Linked DNA regions of Homo sapiens: region 1 is linked to region 2. The links are contacts of gene promoters, found by promoter capture Hi-C in human tissues and cell types (Jung and others, 2019). All regions are on one chromosome and are shown on one strand. Each heading gives the region's core, a stretch centred on a gene start or on the middle of the fragment in contact. The rest is flanking DNA. Distances are from core to core; before and after follow the strand shown.

The links. Contacts are between HindIII fragments. The study calls those that stand out against the background at their distance.
Region 1: a fragment that was not itself captured here is called in contact with the fragment with the promoter of GNG10 in region 2 in 1 of the 25 tissues and cell types used here (aorta).

Annotation. Positions count from the first base shown.
Region 1 is chr9:111,934,880-111,939,888 of GRCh38, reverse strand. UGCG (UDP-glucose ceramide glucosyltransferase) reads right to left here. Exons shown (of 9, transcript NM_003358.3): 9 at 4,520-5,009. Among named protein-coding and RNA genes, the nearest start is that of MIR4668, 5.3 kb to the right of the region's middle. RefSeq lists an enhancer at 1,695-2,004. The HindIII fragment of the contact is 5,345 bases long and covers 1-4,956 here.
Region 2 is chr9:111,658,562-111,663,296 of GRCh38, reverse strand. It overlaps GNG10 (G protein subunit gamma 10), which reads right to left and starts at 1,692. Exons shown (of 3, transcript NM_001017998.4): 1 at 1,582-1,692. The coding sequence starts at 1,662. All of the region lies in intron 1 of DNAJC25-GNG10 (DNAJC25-GNG10 readthrough), which reads right to left. RefSeq lists enhancers at 632-681, 882-981, 2,052-2,111 and silencers at 1,272-1,391, 1,422-1,871. The HindIII fragment of the contact is 18,619 bases long and covers 1-4,735 here.

The DNA.
Region 1 (5,009 bases), core at 1,035-3,534, 280 kb before region 2:
AGCGTGGTGATGTGCACCTGTAATCCCAGCTACTCAGGAGGCTGAGGCAGGAGAATCGCTTGAACCCGGTAGGCGGAGGTTGCAGTGAGCCAAGATCACATCACTGCACTCCAGCCTGGGCGACAGAGGCAGGTTCTGTCTCAAAAAACAAAAAGCAAACAAAAACAACAACAAAAACCCAAAACCAGAACTAGAAGATTCTAGAAGGGGAAAATAAAATTTTAGTATTTTACTCATGTGTAGAGAAATCTTTTGTTTTAGTAGGGTGAGGGTGGGGGGGTTGGGAGCATGAAATAGCAAACACCTTACTAACACAATGAGAGGGTGGAAAGGTATTAAATGACATATGTGCCAGAATTAATGTTTTGATTCTGGCTTGACTGTCAACAATAGACCTTTCCCGAGTGACTATTACATGAATGCACTGGAGGGAAGGGTACAAAGAGAAAAAAGCACAAAAAAGGACTACTAAGATATGCAAAGTCCAGGCCCCTGAAAACTGGAAATGACCTGCAGACACGTAAGTGAAATGCCTGACAAAATGAAAGGGACAAAATGTGGGCACACACAACTCTGGAAAGGTCCTGAATTGAATGTGAGTTGAGGTTTAAAGGAGAGTATGTTGACCAGGTGCGGTGGTTCACGCCTGTAATCCCAGCACTTTGGGAGGCCGAGGCAAGCGAATCACTTGAGGACAGGAGTTTGAGACCAGCCTGGCTAACATGGTGAAACCCCTTAAAAATACAAAAATTAGCTGGATGTAGTGGTGCACGCCTGTAATCCCAGCTACTCAGGAGTCGGAGGCACAAGAATCGCTTGAACACAGGAGGTGGAGGCTGCAGTGAGCAGAGATTGCGCCACTGCACTCCAGGTGGGTGACAGAGTGACACTCTGTCTCAAAAAACAATAAAACAAAAAAACCAACAATAAAGAAGGAGAGTATCCCCATAGACAGGGAAAGTGAGGATGAAGGGAGAGAAACTTTCAGGGCAAGGAAACAGCATGGGAGCAAGGAAGCTCTGGTTCCACACGGAAAAGGGTCGGCTGGTGAGAGTGAGCCATTGGGTTGGGGGTGGAGAGCTCAGGCTGGAGAGATGGTGATGTGAAATGAGAATAGAAAATTAAGGACCACCTTTTCCTGGGCTTGGAGTAAGGCTGAGGAACATGGGGTCAGAGGAAGAAGCTGAAGTCAGAAGTCAAGCTCCAAGTCAATGTAGAGACAAAGCAGGAAGTAAAACAAGCAATATAACCAAAAATAAGCGAATCAGAACAAAATGAAAAAGGGCAGACTGTGGGCAGGGCTAGGGTGCCCACAGCTGCTTCCGGGATGCCGATTATGCTGTTGGGAGACAGTCTAGGATAAAGTCAGGAGACTGGAAGATGGGGATGGACAATTCCCCTTCATCGTCTCTTAATGACCCAACTTCTTAGGACATTTCTCACAAATTCAAGTCAGGCTTAGTTTTTTGGCTTAGTATTACTGGGACCTTGGGTGGAAATGCATCGTTGTTGCAGTTTCCAAATATCTGTGCCCATCGCTTTCATGTCTTTTTCACACGCAGCCAAACCTAAAGCATCTGACTTCTGCTTCTTCCACTCTGATGAACTGGCTTCCTGGGAGCTGCCTTTCTTAAACTGTTTCCTTGGCATCAGAGTCATATGGGTGCTCTCAGGGTCAGGAGCAATTTCTGTCTTTGAAAGTCCCACCCCTTTGTCTCTCACTGTAGAAAATATATCACTGTGTAAAACAAGAAAAATCGTTCATAAAGAAGCTGTATTACTCCCACGCAGACACTTCATCTATCAACGTCTGAGACAATTCACTATGGCGGAGACCCACGCTGGCAACTCTACAGGGAGTTTCCTGCCCCAGAGTTCACCAGCCTCTTCTCATCCTTTACGGTCAACGGCCCCTCCCGTGACCACTTCCTTCTTGAAATCTCTCTTTCCAAGGCTACTGTGGCACTCCTTTTACTATTTCTTTCTTCTTTGGGAGGAAAAAGGCACTAACTGTCCCTATGCTCATGTACATGACCTCATCGAATCATCTCTACCACCTCAGGTGCTTTAGTATCTCCATTCTACATGGTTAAGAAAGCTTGGCTCAGAAAGATGAAGGAAGCTTCCTAAAGTCCCATAGCTACCAAAAAGCCCATTTGGACCCCAGGTTTGGCAGCCTCTTTTCCTAGATGTTTTTCTTCCATTGTCTCTCTAAATGGCACTTTGACTTTAGTTATAGTCACTGTCTCAGCCATCACCTCTAGGGAAATTACTCCCAAGTCACCACTTCTAACCCATTCCTTTCCCCTGCTCCAGAGCTGCACAATAAATAGTCTGCTGGATTTCTCCAGCATGTTCCTTAGGCTGGCCTGGTGTCCGTCAGTCATGAGGGGAAATGATAGAGGTTTCACATCTGGTGACAAGGGTTGGGAAACAAAGGTGGCATGACCGCAATGGGGTGTGCAGGCAGCAGAGGAGGGGTGCAGATACTCTCAGTCCTGTAGAAGAATAAATGATATCCCTAAATTGCTTAAATTAGATAATTACAAGTCCATGCTATTAGCATGGATGTCTTAATGATGATTAGTCTAAACAGCACAACCACATGAAACCATTCCAGACACCCACAGTCTCTGCCAATTTCTCTCGGAACTGAGGAGGGGCCATGTGAAAGGCTTAGCACATTTTGGTTCTTAGGAAACTAGCTGCTTAGGGATCTCTTAAAGATATGTATTTTTGTTTTTAGAAAATACTAGGATAGTGATTTTAAACTTTTTTCTAGGTATCAATATTTTTAAAGCAAATTACCCAACTAAACACATATCCTTGCAGCTCTGCAGAGACAGGTACTCACCATTTTGCGGTTTGCTTTCTTTTCACCGAAATGAACTTGATATGGTCGTAAACTATAACTTGAAATGAATAAATAAATAACTCAAGCACTAGATCCTGATAAACTTCAGAAGGAAAGGTCTGAACTATTTCCATTCTCATGAACACAGTCTTGTGGTATGCATCAATCTTATCAATCATGTATGTAAAGCATTTCACTTTAAATGAGCTTTATAGTAATTTACATTCTTGTTCTACAGGTTTGAATCTGGTTCTCTAGAACAATTTTTGAGTTAGGATACAGATGGTTATTAAAACTGTGATATTTTTCCCCCTTAAGGTCTAGGTAAATTTTCAAGCCAGTGTAAGCATAAATTTAAATGTGGTCCAGCGGAGAAATATACCACACTGGGACCAGATAGAGGGGCTACTCCCAGCTCTGCCACCAGCACCATGCCTACCTAACCCTATGATCACAGCTCTCACCGTGGGTGTCTCAGCTTCTTCATTCTAAAATAAGGGTGAGGGATCCTCAAGATCCACCTAGCTATGAAATTCTAAGACATACTCAACTTTGTGTTGATCATTTCTTAAACTGTAGGGTTAGAAGTACACAAATGAGAAGGAATGTTTGTTTACTGGGCCAGATCCCTTTTAGACTGTGTCTTACGGCTCCGATAACAGAATACCATAGACTGGGTGGGTTATAAACAACAAAACTTTCTCAGTTTTGGAGGCTGGAATGTTTAAGATCAAGGCCCTGGCAGATTTAGTGGCTAGTAAAAGCTGACTTTCTGGTTCATAGCTGGTCACCTTTTTGCCGTATCCTCACATGGCGGAAGAGGCAAGAAAGCTCTCTGGGGTTTCCTTTATAAGCATCAATCCCATCCTGACGGCTCTGATCACCTACCAAAGGCCTCACCTTGAAAGACCCTCCTCACATTGGGCATTAGGTTTCAACACAGGAACTACGGAGAGACAAAAATATCAGCTGAGAGCGGATTCTTTCTACCCCGGATTTGTTCTCCAGTTAAGAACATTCTTTTCTCATGGGATGGTGGTAAAACAGGCCTGTAAAGGCTTCCAGCTTGGGAGGGACCTGGCCTTGGAAAGTATGTAAGGTGCATCTCCCATCTGGGTCTCAAGTAATAATGCCACTCCATTCCTTCCTTTGGATTTACATTTTCTAGCCATTAGAGTGGTAAGATCTAAAAGGCTGAGTTCAAGCTGTGAGCCCGGGGGGAGAGGGGCCCAAAGGACCACTGGCTCTTTTCTAAAGGTCATTACGAGCCAGTCATTCTCACAGTAGAATCACGGGTAGAAGAGCTCAGGCCTCACCCAAAATAATTACACCAAAATCTATGTGGGCAGGGCCCAGGGTGTGTGTGTGTGTTGTGTACAGGGCCCAGGGTGTGTGTGTGTGTTGTGTACAGGGCCCAGGGTGTGTGTTGTGTATTTTTTTTTTTTTTTACAAGTTCTCCAGGTGATTTTAACAGGCAACCAATGTAGAAAAGCCATACTTAAGTCACAGGACTGCCTATGTCCTTATTTATTTTACCTATGGCTCAGGTAAAAGGAAGATTTCAAAAGGAATACTTGACAGAACTCTTCTAATAATTCTGATGTGAATGGTGGAACATGCTACTTATAAAAATACAGAAGAACAAAAAATACACTATTGCTAACGTTTTGATTGTATTCAAATTTTTATTTTTTGAACAAAAATTTAAGACAATGATTTTAAATAATAAAACATGGTATATATTCTAGACACTGGTTTTTTTTAAAGATTTATTAAATTTAGACTCCTATAGTTCTGTTGTGATGCTTTCTTCAACATTTATATTATTTCTTACCATTTTATCATCACTCCAAGCTTGCTAAACAAAGAATCTCTCTGTTAAGTGAAGTTTTACATTAAGGAAATACTCCACTAGCACACTGAACAAACCTACAGAACTGTCCTAGTTTATATTTACAAAACACAAGAAGTCTGTCCAGCCATTTTGGTTTTGTTGTTACACTGTCCATACTGAGATCAGCAGAGAGCTAAGTAATACACAAGATTACGCTTCGGCAGTGCAAAGGATGGCATCAACCAAACTTCATTAAACAGACCAACAAGTACAAACATGGTGAGCAAAGTTCAACTCAGGTAATAGTGATTAAAAACAAAA
Region 2 (4,735 bases), core at 443-2,942:
TTGCTGCAGGAAAAAAAAAAAATCACAAATATGACCAGCAGTCTCCCTTGTCACAGCAGCTGGGTCTTCAGTCACAGCGCATCTGCGTGCCTGCTCAGGGGCCACTCCCTTAGTCCCCTTTCCTCTGCCTTAGAAGAAAACCTGGCCTCCTATTTCACAAAGAAAAGTGTCACCATACAAGTTTAGCCCATATCTAGAAACTTATCTTTACACACACCCTTACCTTCTTTCTTCCTGTCTCAGAAGCTGTGCCACCAATCCCCCACCCCCCCGTAGCCCTGTCTCCTCTACCAGCAATTGGCTTCCATTTGTTTCTTCCCTGGAACCTAAAAATATAATTTGTTACTTCCTCTCAACCCTAAAACATGGCTTTTCATTTCCTAAGTTAAAAAAACACGTTATTTCCTCTTTAAAACTAGGTTTCTTTAAAAAGAAAAAACGTCTGCCTACCCTATGACAGTCCAGATTCTGCTTTTACTAACACATAAGCCACCAGACCTCTGCATTCCACAGCCCTCTCTCCCTTTACCCTGTTTATTATCTTCACTCCACTTAGTACATGAAGCGATGCTATGTATCCGTTAAGTTGCTGTTTACCTTCCCCTCCAGAACCACCCTATTCCCTGTAGCAGTGCCAGGCACACAGCAAAGGAGAAACTGAGGCACAGGGACTATCCTGGTTGTGTTCCTTCTTACAGATCTTCTGCAAATAATGCTGCACTCGTAGCTAAACACAGCTCTACAACAGACGCCTTTTAGCCAACTGACTAAACGCTGGACATGTTGACTGAGCCCCCAGTTTTTGGAAATCCCTACTTCCTTGCTCGGAAACCTTGCTGTCTCTTATTTCCTCTTCTCTAGGCCTTGCTCGGAAACCTTGCTGTCTCTTATTTCCTCTTCTCTCGGCCACCGGCCATCGGTGTGGCTGGTCCCCGGGTCCCAGGCTCTGAGCTCTGCTCTTCATAGAAGAGGCTTTTTCGCCCCAATGCACTTGAATGACCTCTTTCAGCCCTGGGCGCTGAGCTTCAGGCCATGAGGACAAATACCTCCCGGATGACTCCCCGGAGTCCCCAGGTCCGCAGCCGAACTCATCATTTCCCCAAACCTGTTCCCCCTCCTCTCTACCTCGGCGGGTGGCAGCGCCGTCCACCCTGTCACGACGACAGAAACCCGAGCATCCTGGCTCTCCTCCCTCTCGCTCTCATCCTACCAATCCATCACCAATTCGCCGCCCTGCGGTGGCCTCCCCAGCCCTGGGTCCACCCTCCCGGCCCGCGCGTCGCCGGCATCCCTTGCGCCCTCCGAGGAACTGACCACGGCCGCCTTCTGGAGTGGGCGCACCCCCAGGGACCGGGACCGACCACGACCGCGGGGCCCCCCAGGCGCGGCTTCCTCCCGTCAGGCCCGGGCCCCCGGCTTGCCCCGCGCCCTCCCTCACCGCGGACCCCACCGCCCCCGCGCCCCGCCGAGGCCTCGCCGCCGCCACCGAGTCCCCCGCTGGCGCCCGGTCCGGGCCGCCGGCCTCCTCTTCTCACGCCCCGCGGGCGGAAGGACCGGAGCGTGGGTACCCGGGGCCCGCACCTTGATCCTCTCCACGCCAGCCTCCAACTTGAGCTGCTCTACCAAGCGCTGCAGGGCGCTCGCGCTAGCCCCGGAGGACATGGCGGCGGCGCTGGGCTCCTAGGGGCTGCTGGGCCCGGCCGGGCGGGGAGGAGCCGCCAGCCCCGAGCGCGGGTGCCGCCCCGGGGCGGGGAAGCAGCTGCGCCCGCCCCGCCGCCCCAGCCCACCCGGCGCGGAGCCGCTTGCCAGAGACAGCGGGGACCCCAGCGAGCTGGCAGTGCTCTCCGCTCCTCAGCGCCTGAAACCTGGGTGGCACCTGCAGCTGGGCCTGGAACCGAGGCGGGGACCCGCAGAGCGCGGCGTCCTCCAGCGAAGCTGGCGCCCCTAGGATGAGCAGGAATCGCGAGGGCGTGGGACGCGAGGATGGAGTGGGCGGCAGCAAACACGCACCCCTGAGAAATGAGAACTGGAGCCAAGGTGTGACATGAGTTGGAGAGATAAGGGGCCTTGCCAGACAGTATCACCGGGGAACCAAGGAGAGTTCATAGGATTTTCATGAGGCAGCAACAGGTTTCTAAATGACCCTGTTACTGTTTCACGGAGATCCTACCAGTTGATTTGGTGGAGTATGGTAAATTGGATAAAATCCCAGACCCTGACATCTTTGTGAAACATACAGAATAAAATTAAATTCAGCGTTTCTCACTCTCATCTCACCATTTAACTGTCATCATTGTTTCTATTCTGCTGCTTTTTTTTTTTTTTTTTTTTTTTTTGAGACAGGGTCTTGCTCTGTCACCCGGGGTGGAGTGCAGTGGCGTGATCACAGCTCCTTGTAGCCTCCACCTCGTGGGCTCAGGTGATCCTCCTGCCTCAGCCTCCTGAGTAGCTGGGACTACAGACACACACCACCACGCCCGGCTAATTTTTGTATTTTTAGTAGAGACGGGGTTTCACGATGTTGGCCAGGCTGGTGTTGAACTCCTGGGCTCAGGTGATCCTCCCACCTCAGCCTCCCAAAGTGCTGGCATTATAGGCCTACTGCATTTTTTAATAAGTGTTTTACAAAACTGGGATCGTTACTATATTTAAAATTTTTGTGTTGCTTTTTTCCATGTATCATTAATACGTCATTATTCTTGTACACCATTGTATTTGTCAGAACTCACTTAAACTGAATATTGCAAAAGGTAATATATTGGCTTGTGTAACTGAAAAGTCCAGGGACTTTAAACTAGTGAATTCAATTACCCAAATAATAATTTTGGGGCTCTCATCCTCCTTGTTTTGATTCTGCTTTTCCTGAGATTAGCCTCATTTTCCTTGGTGGTAGATGGACTTCTCTAGTGGTATGAAGGAAGGCACCACACTTTCACTGTCCCCATCTAGCAAACCCAGGAAAAATAGTACCTCTTTTCTTTCTAATCGTTCCAGCAAAAATCCCCATAATGAACCTCACTGGCTGGTATTAAGTCATGGGCCCACCCCTGGCCCAATTACTCTTTGAAGGCAAGGATGTGTGGCATTGACGTGCTCAGATTAGCTGTGCCTGGGCCAAAGGGAGACTTGCACATTTGAAAGCCCTCTCTAGTGGCCAATTTCCTCACCACAAAGAAATTAATATATATCTTAGTAAAGAGATGAAAGTACATGTTGGGAACATTCAACAATCAATTCTGAGACTGATGAATAGGACAAAATAGAATGATTTCATATTTAAAAGATATGGCAAAGAACTCAGTGCAAAGATATACATACTGGATTAGGAAAGGCTCATCATAGATCGTGAGAGCTGGACTTTGGAGATACGTGTCTTGCAGATGGCTCAGAAGGAAGAACAGTCCAGTATGGAGGACAGCTGGAGGCGATGCACACATGTAGAGTGAATAAATTTAAAAATAGAGGAAGCTCTAGTGACTAATAGCAGATACAAAGTTGCTAGGGCCAGAAGTCATAGAAAACCTCACATACACACAAAAGTTTATGGTAAACAGTGGGATAGCCACAGGGTAAGGCATTTTGGGAATATTAATCTGAGATGAATGTGCAAAATGAACTGAAGTTGAGAAGATAAATGGCTGATGGTGGGGGAGTAGCTGGAATGAGGCCCTGGGTAGGACTGTTAGAGTAGGAATGAGGGGGAACAAATTTAGAAGACAAAATCAGTGGTACTTCATGGTGGTTATGAAATGCAAAGAAAAGAGGACAAAGGGTTCTGTAGCAGAGAGTGGGCCAGAACTAATGCCAAAACAGAAATTAGGAAACAAGACTTGGCTTGAGATGAGTAAAAAATAATGTGGGGTTTGGTTTAGGAGTAACGAAGTGACTTCCATGGCATTGCTACATGCCTTTAGGCTGCTGAAAATGTTTAGTAGCCAAGATGTTAATGTGAAGATGTCTCCACAGCAATGGCAGCTGAAATAATGAGATTACCTCAAAATCATTAGAAATGAAGGCTTTGGAGTTGCCCTCAATGAAGGGACACACGTCAGCCATGTCATACTGTATCAGCCACGAGGTAGCAGGAAAAGTCTAGGGGTGTGCTGTGTCTGCCTCCTTCATGCCCTACACACCCACTGCCCCGCCCACCTCAGTGTTACTTTGCACCGTTCAAGAGGAATGGTCTGTGATCCATGGATAAGCAGGCCGGGCGCCACTTGTACTTGAGGAAGGCTGACCATCTGTGTGATGCTCCACACTTTCCCCACAAGACTTCTCATCCATTATTTTTGCATCATGGAACTTCAAAGTTGAAGGGAACCATCAGATAGTGCGGCGCATCTACAATTTCAGAGATGAGGAAACAGATCCACTAAGGAAAGTGAAGTGACTTGCCCAGTATCACAGAAAGTGGGAGCAGGGAAAAGAATTTCATTTTAGCTTTCAAGAGAATTCAGGCCAGACGCGGTGGCTCACACCTGTAATCCCAGCACTTTGGGAGGCCAAGGCGGGCAGATCACTTGAGGTCAGGAGTTCAAGACAAGTCTGGCCAACATGGTGAAACCCCGTCTCTTCGGGGTTTCTACCACGCCTGGCTAATTTAAAATACAAAAATTAGCCGGGCGTGCTGGCATATGCCTGTAGTCCCAGATTCCTGGGAGGCTGAGGCACAAGTATCGCTTGAACCCGGGAGGTGGGGGTTGCAGTGAGACTGCGCCACTGCACTCCTGCCTGG